Regions from separate parts of the Homo sapiens genome. Here region 2 is linked to region 1. Evidence: promoter capture Hi-C in 16 types of primary human blood cells and fetal thymus (Javierre and others, 2016). All regions are on one chromosome and are shown on one strand. Each heading gives the region's core, a stretch centred on a gene start or on the middle of the fragment in contact. The rest is flanking DNA. Distances are from core to core; before and after follow the strand shown. Region 1 holds the start of ARL5B (ARF like GTPase 5B). Region 2 holds the start of YME1L1 (YME1 like 1 ATPase).

Region 1 (7,008 bases), core at 4,058-6,557:
CTCACTCTGTCGCCCAGGCTGGAGTGCAATGGCATGATCTCGGCTCACTGCAACCTCCGCTTCCTGGGTTCAAGCGATTCTCCTGCCTCAGCCTCCTGAGTAGCTGGTATTACAGGTGCCTGCCACCATGCCCAGCTAGACAGTTAACTAATTTCTATCTAGTCCTCCCTTTTTCTGTTCTTCCAGGTTGCCTTTTTATTTCTTCTATGACAGACATGCCTCTTTTACTTGCCAAAATGTTATTTCAGACTGATCTTGGAAGAAAGGTCTTAATTCTGCCTCTGGCTATCTCCATTCAAGGGAACTTCTTTCCTTCTTAATTTCAAACCTGAATGGTTCTATGAAAATAACATGACACCTATAGTCACCCATTCACCCATAAATCCAATCCTGTATCAGTACAGCAGCTCCAGTCTAAGCTCAAATTTATTTGGCATTTGAGACACAATAAATTAGGGACTATAGTATCTGGAAAGTGGCCTGGCGCAGTGGCTCATGCCTGTAATCCCAACACTTTGGGAGGCTGAGGCGGGTGGATCACCAAGTCAGGAGTCCAAGACCAGCCTGATCAATATGTAAAACCCCATCTGTACTAAAAATGCAAAAATTAGCCTGGCGTGATGGCACGTGCCTGTAGTCCCAGCTACTTGGGAGGGTGAGGCAGGAGAAACGCTTGAACCAGGGAGGCAGAGGTTGCAGTGAGCCAAGATTGTGGCACTGCACTCCAGCCTGGGCAAGACTCTGTCTCAAAAAATAAAAAAATAAATAAAATTAAAAAGTCTGGAAAGTAAAGGGAAGAATGAATACAATTTAGTTAAGAATACTGCCAGGATTAAACAAACAAAAAATCAATCTTGGATTGGTTCATCTTTATTTCTAGAAATAATACTATATACCTTACCGAGAACTTCCCATTTTTCTTGCCACGCTTATGGAACATTGGAAATTAGCACTATAATTTGCTTTGGGGAACACTTCTCTGAAAATCCAGCAGTCCAACTGTTGCCAGACTTAAATCCCTCGCTGCTTTATCTTGCTCGTATCCTTCCCACCTAAGAAAGGAACAAACAACATAGATTCTTACAAAGAAAATGGTATTAACATATGACTGAAGTTTAGCAGGGTTCCTGGGCAATCTATATCTTTGACACCTCTGGTGTCAAGCTACTAGGGTGCAGATTCCAGTTCTTGCAACCTCAGTCAAGTATTAAAGTTCTTTTCACTTCAGTTTCTTCATCTGTGAAATACAGATAATAGCTCCTGCTTCACAATTTTACTATAAACCAAACAAATTAGGTAGAGTGCTTTAAATGGTACTAGAACAAAGTCCTCTGTAAATGTTACATAGTATTAATATACATGTACTGAAGGAATGGCTATAGGATAGTGAAACGTCATTTGTGAGGAAAGAACTAAAGTGACCTAAATTCTGACATGTCAAGAGAGTCAACTTTTCTATCTAAGGGAGGAGTGAAGATTTCAGGTGTTTAGGAAATGTAAGAGGCTCCACCCGAAGGAATGGGACTGTAGTAAAGAGGGGCAAAGCTGTTTCCAGAGAAGACAGGACCAGAAGCTTCAAGAAATTGAGTCAGCTTCAAAAGCCAAAAACCTACTATAAATGGGTAATTTATAAGCCACCATGACTGCCACACTGAGCAGCCGAGCCCCTAAAGGACTACATGTGTTGATGATACAAGCTTTGAAGTACCTGTTGGAAGGAGCATTTATCAAATGTAGGAAGGCTGGTGACATTGAGCCCTAAACTACAGAAGAGATGTCAATTCTCATTGATTGAATTATGACCAAAGTCATAGACCTACGGCTAGTTTGATCTAGTAGATATTTTGAAACTCAGGATATTATGGCTTCTCTTTGTAAACATAAAGCAACTTTGTCAGAAATTTATCAACATTTTATCAATACACTTTTCGTAATGATAGGAGCGAGACGTGAGTTTCTTTTATATTACTTACAGCATCAAAAATTGTTGGTCTCTCAATAGATATTTACAGAAGGCGATCATATTGATTTCAGACCATATGGCAGGTAGAATTTTCTGACGGGAAATCTATCAGTCACACCTAATCTGGAGACTGATCAACTAAACTAAAATCACAATGGGCATTACCTTAAAGGTTGAGGAAAGTTAAAAAATGGTGGCTTCCAGCACTTTGGGAGGCCAAGGCAGGTGGATCACGAGGTCAGGAGTTCAAGACCAGCCTGACCAACATGGTGAAACCCCATCTCTACTAAAAATACAAAAATTAACTGGGCATGGTGGTGCATGCCTGTAATCCCAGCTACTCAAGAGACTGAGGCAGGAGAACTGCTTGAACCCGGGAGGCAGAGGTTGCAGTGAGCTGAGATCACACAACTGCACTCCAGCCTAGGTGACAGAGTGAGACTCCGTTTAAAAAAAGCAATGGACAAATTGATCAGAGTTGTATAAGTAATAAATTGAATTCAATTACAGCTACAGCTAGCTCTTCCAAGTATTATCTGAAGTTAGTTTGTAATAGTTCCTTTTAAAAACATCTTATAGTTTTATTTTTTGAATTCCCGAGTTGTTTGACATTTTTCTTCCTTGAACTCTTTAAAATATTTTGTTGAACTGGATAGAGATTTTACTGGGATTCCAATTTAATTAAAGGAAGTTATTTCCAATGAACACTTAAGAAAATTAGTTACAATCCTTTTTTTTTTTTTTTTTTTTTTTTTTGGTTCAGACAGGGTCTCACTGTCACCCAGGCTGGAGTCCAGATGCACGATCTTAGCCCACTGCAGTCTTGACCTCCTTGGCTCAAATGAGCCTCTTGCCTCAGCCACCTCATTAGTCGGGACTACACATGTGCACCACCATGTCCAGCTAACTTTTGTATTTTTTTGGAGAGACAGGATTTCTCCATGTTGTCTGGGTTGATCTAAAATTCCTGGGCTCAAGTAATCCACCTGCCTTGGCCTCCCAAACTGCTAGCATCACAGGCATGAGCCACCGTGCCTCTCCTAATGTAATTGAAAGTATTTTTTCTAACAGATCGATAGGTACATCAGCATGATATCTGTTTAGATAATACACAACTATATTCTGTTAATCAATCATATTACTTTTGATAATTGTGGCTATTTTTCTTTCCCTCCAGTTTGTAAAAATTTTAGATTTCCAAATCAGCAAACAAAACTTTTAAATATGAAAAAATATTTTTAAAATATTAGAACAGTCTCATTGTCAGGTAAATTGTTCATAAGAAAGGTGTTAAAAGTAAGTTAAAAGTAAATTTTAACGAACTGAAAACTTCAACACTAAAGTTTTCTGAAATTTCAAAGAAACAAAACCAATAAAAATATCAAGAGCCATGTTCAAATAAATACATTCATTCCACTTAGTTAAAAGTAGAAGTATAATTCAAACTTACTGTCTCTAAAATATCATAAAAATGTTTAAGAAATCTATAGTTTTTTTTGCTTCAAATCTCTGCATTTTCTTTATTTTATTTTTATTTTTATTTTTTTAGACGGAGTCTCACTCTGTCGCCAGGCTGAAGTGCCCTGGTGTGATCTCTGCTCCCTGCAACCTCTGCCTCCCAGGTTCAAGCAATTCTCCTGCCTCAGCCTCCTGAGTAGCTAGGATTACAGGCGCGTGCCACCACACCCGGCTAATTTTTGTATTTTTAGTAGAGACAGGGTTTCACCATGTTGGCCAGGATGGTCTCCATCTCTTGACTTCGTGATCCACCCGCCTCAGCCTCCCAAAGTGCTGGGATTACAAGCATGAGCCCCAGCGCCCAGCCAAATGTCTGCATCTTCATACAAAAATGCTTTGTTCTTTTCAGAAATGGTTTCTTAGAAATCCGAAAGCCAGAAAAAAAAAAAAAAAGCAGAATGTGGTTTACATCCATGTCTAACAATTGAAGAAGCTGTTACGGAATCTAAAGTTTGTTTTGTGATAATGAAGCTAGGACTAAAAATGTCCTTTTAAGCCATTACTTACACAAACACAAAATTATTCACATTTATGGTCCAACTGATAGTCATGAAAGTTAAGTTTGCATAGGGTCAGTACATTCTTTTTCCTCTACATAGGAGGTTGAAACTTGCCTTTAATGTTGTAACGTTGGAGCATATTATCCTGCATCTAAGTCTTAAAGGGTCTTTAAACCATAGCACTGGGAGGACGTAAGTCATACATTCTCCTTGTACAGGTTAACTCAAGAGTTTGGCATGTTAAAAGGCCACGTTGCCAAGGTTAAAATCCAACCATCTGACTGAAGTCAGAGTCTAAAAAAATTTTAAGCTTGCTCCTCCGTCAACTGGTTTCAAGGACATTCAGTTTCGTTTCATGCCAGGCTGTGAAGCTTTTCTTTTCAATGCTAGAACCTAACCATGGAAAGTGGAATTGAAAACAATTACACAGCGAATTGGCTTATGCGTGGACTTCGATCTGGGATCCACGAACATACCTAATGCTTGGCAAAATGGAGAGGGGTGCTATGTGTTATTATTATGTGTTATTATTAATCACATAACTGAACTCTGTGGCTCCAGGCCTTCCATGGCTCGTCTCCCAATCAATTCTTTTCAGAACTAAGAATCACGACAGGGGCCGGGCGCGGTGGCTGAGCCTGCAATCCCACCACTTTGGGAAGTCGAGGCAGGAAGATCGCTTGAGCCCAGGAAATTGAGTCCCCCTGGGCAACACAGCCCGACCTCGTCTGCAATCGATCAATCAATCAATGAGTACATAAATGCATAAGCCAATGAATGAATACGTGAATGAATAGATTAATAAATGAATGAAGAAGAATCACGGCAGAACTCCTAACCCCTAGCACGCCTGCCTAGGGGAACAGGAATAAGTCAGGAAAGAAACACTCTTCACTTCTGTGAGTTTTCTAAGAGCAGCAAACGGCGGCTGCTCACTTAGAGAACCTATGGTCTTTCCTGGTTTTAGAGGTCAGGGAAGCAGCTGCTAGCAGCAGAGACTCAAATCAAAGGGGAGTCCCACAAACGTTTTGAAGGCTGACATCAGAAGGAGCACGCACCAAGGGAAATTTCCCACCCCCCCGCGATACCGCAAATTCCCAGCCGCTGGCCGTTTGGGACTCTCCTACCGGAAGTGAAACCGAAGAAAACGCCACGTCGAAGGCGTGGGTTGCCGTAAGTGCGCCGTCGTCACGCGCCTAGCTTCCGGCGATGGGTGGTCCTGGGATCCGGAGGGGAGGCGGGGTGGAGGCGGGGCTTGGGGCTGTGGAGAGGCTGTGGTAGGTAGGTGGGTACAGACCGAGGGGACTACGGGTCGGCGTTGGGCTCAGTGGGCTCGAAACAAAGGGCTGTCCGGTGGGGATTCGTCGCGGCGCCTTCTGAGTGGTCGGGTCGAGGCTTCTCGGCCTAGCAGTGCCCTCGCTGCGCGATCTCAGGCGGGTTCTCCTCGGCTCCGCGCAGCCCGCGCCGCGGTGGGGGACCCGGCGCAGCGGCACCTGCTGCCGAGGGACCCCGCGGCCCGCCCCGGTGCTCGTGATGGGGCTGATCTTCGCCAAACTGTGGAGCCTCTTCTGTAACCAAGGTGAGAAGAATGGAGCTGCGCGGCGGCTCGAATCCGAGGCAGAGGGTCCCGCCGCCGATGGGGACACCGGAGACAGGGGACAGAGCGTTCGGAGACGCGGAGGAGGAAGGGACTTAGGCCAGGGGGCGGGCAGAAACTCAGTGTTTTAGACCTGGAGGACGTACAGGAGAGACCTGACGTGTGGGAGAAATAGGGAGGCAGAAGAGAAGGTATTTGGCGTCCCAGAATCCAAACTGAGAATGTTTGGATATTGGCGAAGTAAAGCGGGATACAGCTAATGATGCCAGGAGGCGTATGGAGGGCCTTTCTCGTCTTTATTGAAGCGTGCTTGTGTCTATGTGTATCCCCAGGATAAGTGTCCGCCCAGAAACCTAGAACTTTTTTTTTTTTGAGTAATGTAGGTGCTTTGTTTTCCCGCCCTGCAGTTTGAGCCGTAAGCCAGTGCACTTTCACTCTGATTTCGCCTCCTTTCCTCTAGGACTTGGGAATGAGTTGTCCTATTCAGATGCACGAGTTTTCCAGCATCTTCATTGTAAACTTTTTTTTTTAAAGCATTTAGTTCAGAAACTAAATGCTTTTCGGTTTTGTGTAAGACGTTACGTGTCCGTAATTAGTCTGTAACAGGTAATGAGACACCTGGAAGTGGCAGGTCCAAAGGGCCGAGAAGTTGCAAAACCTGTTCTGAATCAGAATGAGATGTGATGTCTTCTGAAGAGAGAAAACACCCAGACCAAAAAAGGGGCCGACGATAAGTTAAAGTTTGAGGCGTCCTTTGAACAGAATGGTTTCTTAGTAATTGAAACCAGTTTTGAAAATCAACTCGTTTCATTTTACATTTAAGAGCCGGGCATCGTTAATAAGCCAGTTTTATTTCCTTTTATGTTGGTACCAATTTGTTACTGCTAATGTAGGTATCTAATCTTTTTCTGGATTTAAGAAGTTGTGGAGGTAATGGAATGGCTTTAGTTGACTTGTTCTGTAGATTGATAAGAACACTAAAGCAGTCTTTTTCAAGGTTATAAATATAGATACAGGCACACACATGTGTATATATATGTATATGCCTGTATCCAGTAACCACAGATAATATTACTTATCAAATGATTTCAAAGTGAGCAGAGCTTCACACTTTGTGGGTATTATCCATACATTTAAAATATTATTTTTATTTATTTATTTTTTGAGGCAGAGTCTTTCTCTGTCGCCCAGGCTTCAGTGCAGTGGCGCAATCTCAGCTCACTGCAACCTCTGCATCCTGGGTTCAAGCGATTCTTGTTCCTCAGCCTCCCGAGTAACTGGTATTTACAGGCACCCGCCACCACGCCCGGCCTATTTTTGTATCTTTAGTAGAGACAGGGTTTCGCCATGTTGGGCAGGCTGGTCTCGACCTTCTGACTTCAGGTGATCTACCCACCTCGGCCTCCCAAAGTGCTGGAATTACAGGTGTG
Region 2 (6,222 bases), core at 3,134-5,633, 8.5 Mb after region 1:
GGGAGGCGGAGGTTGCAGTGAGCCAAGATCATGCCATTGCATTCCAGCCTGGGTGACAAGAGCAAAACTCCATCTCAAAATAAATAAATAAATAAAAATGAAAACAAAAAAAACACTTGAGCCCAGGAAGTTGAAGCTGCAGTGAGCTATCATGCCACCACACTCCAGCCTGAATGACATGGCAAGACCCTGTCTCAAGAAAAAAAAAAATTTACTTAATAAATATTTGTTGAGTAAATGAATACATTAAATGGGTTCTTATTATATACCAGGTTTAGTACTACAGGCTTTACTTCTATCATCCCATTTAATCCTCAAACAGCTATAATAATGAGTAACAATTATACTTCTTGTTACAGTTCTGTCAGAGACTTTTGAACCAGAGTGACTCCATCTGGAGTAGGGGCAAAATGAGGGTAAATGAGGCTGAGACCTACTGGGTTGCATTCCCAGGAGGTTAGGCATTCTAAGTTACAGGATGAGATAGGGTGTGGGCACAAGATACAGGTCATAAAGACCGTGATGATAAAACAGGTTGTAGTAAGGAAGCCAGCCAAATCCCACCAAAACTAAGATGGAGAGGAGAGTGACTTCTGCTAGTCCTCACTGCTCATTATGTGCTAATTATAATGCATTAGCATGCTAAAAGACACTCCCACCAGACCATGACAGTTTAAAAATGCCATGGCAACATCAAGAAGTTACCCTATGTGGTCTAAAAAGGGGAGGAACCTTAGGGGTCCCCCTTTCCCTGAAAACTTATGAATAATCACACATTGTTTAGCATAAAATCAAGAAATAACTAACTGTAGGTATCCTTCGTGGACAAGCCCAAGCAGCTCCTCTGCCTATGGAGTACCCCATTCTTTACTCCTTTACCTTCTTAATAAACTTGCTTTCACTTTATAGACTCTCTCGCCTTTTTTTTTTTTTTTTTTTTTTTGAGATGGAATCTCGCTTTGTCGCCCAGACTGGAGTGCAGTGATGCAATCTCGGCTCACTGCAACCACCGCCTCCTGGGTTCGAGTGATTCTCCTGCCTCAGCCTCCCGAGTAGCTGGGACTACAGGCGCAGGCCACCACACCCAGCTATTTTTTTGTATTTTTAGTAGAGATGGAGTTTCACCATGTTAGCCAGGATCTTGATCTCCTGACCTCGTGATCCGCTCGCCTCTGCCTCCCAAAGTGCTGGGATTACATGCGTGAGTCCCCGCGCCTGGCGACTCTCTCGAATTCTTGTGCGAGATCCAACAACCCTCTCTTGGGGTCTGGATCAGGGCCCACTTCCAGTAAAAATTCCAGTGTTTATCTCCTTCAAAACTCAAGTTTGAGTTGAGAACAATGGCAAACTTAGTTGCCACTGTAATCCTGTTAAGAGGTGGGACCTTTAAGAGGCATTTAGTTCAGGAGGGCTCTGCCCTCATCAATGGACTAACGCCATTATTGTGGGTACAGACCATTTAATAGATGAAGACAACAAAGATTTAGAATCTGACTCAAAATTCCAGACTTCTCATCCCATGGATATTGATACACAAATAAATTCGTGACATACTAAGGAATAAAGCTGACCGTAAAACTACCTTAAGTATGCATACCCGTGGGGGCGCGGTGGCTCACGCCTGTAATCCCAGCACTCTGGGAGGCCGAGGCGGACGGATCACAAGGTCAGGGGATGGAGACCATCCTGGCTAACACGGTGAAACCCCATCTCTACTAAAAATACAAAAAATTAGCCGGGCGTGGTGGCGGGCGCCTGTGGTCCCAGCTACTTGGGAGGCTGAGGCAGGAGAATGGCGTGAACCTGGGAGGCGGAGCTTGCAGTGAGCGGAGATCGCGCCACTGCACTCCAGCCTGGGCGACAGAGCGAGACTCCATCTTAAAAAAAAAAAAAAATTAAAATAAAAAAAAGTATGCATACCCGTGTTTGTTTATAGAAAAAAATGTGTGAAAGAATTTAGTCTAAGATACGTATCCCTGAGTAATGAGATTATGGGCGATCTTATTTATACTTTCAGCATTTTTAGCAAAAAAACATGGATTTGTTTTAAGGCTAGTCAAGTGAAGCAATGTATCATTTTTAGAGTCAGAAAGAAACAGTAAGTTCCTTACAGCCTGGGGGCAGTAAAAAGAAAAAAAAATAAACAGTAACTTCTTTTGAAACTTTAAAAATAATCAAATCATTTCAAGATACATATTTTCTACCTCTTTGAAAAGATTTATTTGAATTAGTTATATCTCTTTTATTTGAATTAGTTATATCTCTTTTCTTTCACAAAAGGATTTAGAGTTGAGCTCTTCTCAATGAAAAAGTTCATTTTCTGTGTCTTCCTTTTTACCATTTAATTTCAAGTGTATTCAACCAATTAAGCAACAAGGAATTCCAAATGTGTTACCATCCTTCAAAGCAAGAAATGCCTGAGAGTCCTCACTATATTTGAGCCCTGTTAAGACTGCCTAGGGTACATAAAAATCCCTTTATCATCTCTACCAACATCACATACTACTAACTGTCCATTCAGTTGATGGTAAATTCTCCTAAAATCAGGCCTCTTGATGTGAACTAAGGCAAAGAGTTGAGTTTCAAAAACTTCAATACCATATTCAATAGGCCATGTCAGACTTCTTTTTCAAACAATTACTAGGACTTCTCCAGACACTGTCATCTTGGTAAATAGCACCTTCAATGCATTCATCTGATCAAACCCAGAAACACCTCTCCCCATCATCTCTCTGATCTCTCATGCAATTCCACTTTCTTCAAAATATATCTCATTCTCTTCTTTCCATAACCACTGCAACAGCTTTAATTGGGGGGTGGGTGGGTATTTTTAGCTGATAACATCTTCCACTCTTGCCCTCTCCTATTCTCCATATAGCAAAAGCCAGTCATCTCTTAAAAATGAAAATCTAATCATGTTTTAAAACTTTCAATGGTTCCCAATACACTTAAAATGAAATCAGCCATAATATATCCTTTACTCCCTGTATGATCTGCCTCAAGTCTTTTCTCCAACCTCTTCTGTCACTACCCCCTTTAACTACTATGTTCTAGCCACACTAGCCTTATTTTTGTTCCTTCAACCTGCTAAACCCTTTCCTAACTCAGGACCTCCAGGTATTTTTCTGTATGCCTGTGATACCTGTTCACTCTTCACCTTGCTAAGTCCTACTCATATTTACTTCATATCAATATTAAGAGAAGATTCCACATTTGCTTTGCTCACCTGGTACATAACTGATGCCCAATAACAAGCAGCTGCTTCAGTTTGTTAGCCAGTACTAGCACAAAAAATTAAAAATTCTTAAAATGAGGGGGAGTAAAAGTTACACAAAGGAACACAATCATATGCTTAAATCAAGAACCTAAGAGTGTCGATTTTCTTAAAAATTATGTTTTAAAAAAACTCAATGTTTTAAAAACTATTTCTTTGCAAAACTGTAGGAACTCTCAAAAAATCTATTAAAATGTTACCATCAAAAAAAGAGACTGGAATGAAGCAAGAATAAAACATTGTCACAAGTGATTGCCCAAGAGCGTAATGAAAACCCTTGAAATCATTTTTCTCTTCACTACCTTTTGTTTTACAAAACGATGAGGATGAGGCTGAATCAAAATTTTAACTGCAAACAGTTTACGACTCGGAAATACACATTTTAGTTACTTCTGGTCAAAATGAGAAAAAAACTTGCATGGCTGGCCATCCGAAATATTATACCATGTTTGGGTTAAATTTAAATTCCATTTAAAAGGAAATAAAGAGCAGGGGATAGGGGCTGTGAACACTAAAGCCACTGGAAAGTCGGAAAAAAGGGAACATTACCTGCTCCCTTTAATGTATGGTACAGACATTTTCCCACCCCAGAACGCCGGACACTGAACAATGCCGGACGGATTCTCTAGCAGAAATTCCACGCAATCAGTTCGATAAGCCAGGGTCTCTCTCTATCACTGAGCTCACATCCCGCCTCTGCCCTCAACAGCTTCATCGTCAGCACTGAAGTCTCCGGCCCACTCTCAGCGTCGTCCCCTGATCCACTCCTCAATCCTGGGATTCGCATTGAGTACATCACTTCATTTCTAGAGTCCCTTCTGAGAAATCGCTTCCACGAGCGCAATTTGCAAACAGCCACGGGCAGGGCGGGAGGAAAAAAAATGGGCTGAATGCCTGGCTTACCTGGGGTTGCACCGTGCTCGACAAGGAAAACATCTCCGGCGGGCCCTCAGCGACCTCACCCGCCTGCCGAAACTGTGCCCCTCTGTCCACGGCCCGGCGGGGAGGCGCTGAGCCCTTCTTTTTTCCTTTTTCTCCGACCCGTTGCCCCTCACTCCTCCCAGAAACGGAAAATGGCCTCCCCTTCCTACAGCTACTGCAACGACAGACAATCCGCCCCGGAAGGCGAGGCGCTAACTCAACAGTACTTCCGGGGCAAGTGAGCGCCCACAAGGCCAAGTGCCTGCGCGTTCTTTCCCGCGGAAGTAGTTGACATTTACAAGGAGCAGCGCCCCCAAAGGTCTTTAGCTGTTTTTTAAGGGGAGAACAGCCTTTACCCTCTTTGGACTTTTTCTTCGTTTTTTTTTTTTTTGGAGACGGAGTTTCGTTCTTTCGCCCAGGCTGGCGTACAGTGGCGCGATCTCGGCTCACTGCAACCTCTGCTCCCCGGGTTCAAGCGATTCTCCTGCCTCAGCCTCCCGAGTAGCTGGGATTACAGGTGCCCGCCACCACGCCCGGCTGATTTCCTCTTAAGACTTTCTACAGCTTCCTTATGAAATCTTCTGACTGGGCCTTGAGCAATAAGGTCTTTTGCTACAATTTAGTGCTCTTTTCCTCACACTAAATCGAAAACTCTCCCTGTTGGTCCTGATCTGTTTCAGTCAGGCAAATTACATCCTGGGAAAACGTCAGATGACAGGGGAGGCCACTCGCTTCCTGCTCATCCAGTTTCGACACTTTCTGTGCTTTCATTAGCTTCCAGACCTCAGCCCTGGCCCTCGCTTTACTGTACAGTCAGAACTGGTTTCTACGCCTCGCGAGGGTGGGAGGTCGTGTATGGGAGGAGGACCGCTTCCCACCAGCCTCGTTGGGAAGCCAGGAGAAATCTCTTCAAATCCTGCGATTCAGAGTCAAGTCCCAGTCGTCCTTTTTCTGGTCGGCCCAGAACTGTTTGTGCCTCCTCCCTCATGAGGAATGATGTCAGTGGGGCCGCGGTCGCCGCCCACGAAGAGTGTAAGGCTGCGAAGTCGGGGCTTTCCCGACGCCCCCTCCGTCCGCGTCTGCGTAGGGGAGGTGACGAGGGCGGGGCGCGGCGGCGGGGTGACGTCACGGCCGCGCGCGGCGTGGGCGGAGCCTCACTTTGAACCCAGTTGGCGGGAGTGGCTGCTCGCGGAGGGGCAGTGTCTGCGGGGCCGCTGTATGCTGTCCAGCGATGGATCCCACCGCGGGAAGCAAGAAGGAGCCTGGAGGAGGCGCGGCGACTGAGGAGGGCGTGAATAGGATCGCAGTGCCAAAACCGCCCTCCATTGAGGAATTCAGCATAGTGAAGCCCATTAGCCGGGGCGCCTTCGGGAAAGTGTATCTGGGGCAGAAAGGCGGCAAATTGTATGCAGTAAAGGTAGGAAGTCAACGAGTAGCAAGGAAGGGGTTAGGCCCTTCGGCCCTCCTTCCTGCCCCACCGGCTTGGGCAGGCCCCGGGGTTGCTGGAGCGAGGAGTCTGGGTGGCCTGGCTTGCTGAAGCCTCCAGAGCCCTGCGAGCTGACTTCTTTTTGGGGCGACATCAGCGGTCGGGTCGGGTGTCTCGCCTCTGTTCCGCCCTTCCCTCCATATCTCAGATGCCCAGTGAGAACAGCAAAGTTTGACTCTCTTCTCCCTGCCCAGCGTTAGCAAATGAGGAAACTGAGGCCAAAGGCAAAGGGACTTGACCGAGGTGATTACATCGGTCTTAGTACAACAGGCACTTAAAGCCAAAGCCGTGATTCGTAGTCTCACCCTGGCTTGAGTTAGGTTTCTTTTTTATTTTTTTTTGAGGCGGAGTCTTGCTCTGTTTCCCAGGCTGGAGTGCAGTGGCGCAATCTCGACTCACTGCAAGCTCCGCCCCCCGGGTTCACGCCATTCCCCTGCCTCGGCCTCCCGACGAGCTGGGACTACAAGCGCCCGTCACCACGCCCGGCTGATTTTTTGTATTTTTAGTAGAGACGGGGTTTCTTTAGTAGAGACGGGGTTTC

What was found. Contacts are between HindIII fragments. The CHiCAGO score rates a contact against its expected background, and 5 or more counts as called.
Region 2: the fragment with the promoter of YME1L1 here is called in contact with the fragment with the promoter of ARL5B in region 1 in 1 of 17 cell types (total B cells); the score reaches 7.6 in total B cells.

What each region holds. Positions count from the first base shown.
Region 1 is chr10:18,654,124-18,661,131 of GRCh38, forward strand. ARL5B (ARF like GTPase 5B) reads left to right here and starts at 5,308. Exons shown (of 6, transcript NM_178815.5): 1 at 5,308-5,560. The coding sequence starts at 5,515. It also overlaps a transcript of NSUN6 not described here. RefSeq lists enhancers at 4,137-4,256, 4,957-5,086 and a silencer at 5,397-5,476. The HindIII fragment of the contact is 6,724 bases long and covers 4,351-7,008 here.
Region 2 is chr10:27,150,001-27,156,222 of GRCh38, forward strand. It overlaps YME1L1 (YME1 like 1 ATPase), which reads right to left and starts at 4,384. Exons shown (of 19, transcript NM_014263.4): 1 at 4,178-4,384. The coding sequence starts at 4,210. It overlaps MASTL (microtubule associated serine/threonine kinase like), which reads left to right and starts at 5,352. Exons shown (of 12, transcript NM_001172303.3): 1 at 5,352-5,612. The coding sequence starts at 5,427. RefSeq lists enhancers at 5,114-5,173, 5,794-6,043 and silencers at 5,234-5,443, 5,241-5,439. The HindIII fragment of the contact is 10,812 bases long and covers 1-6,222 here.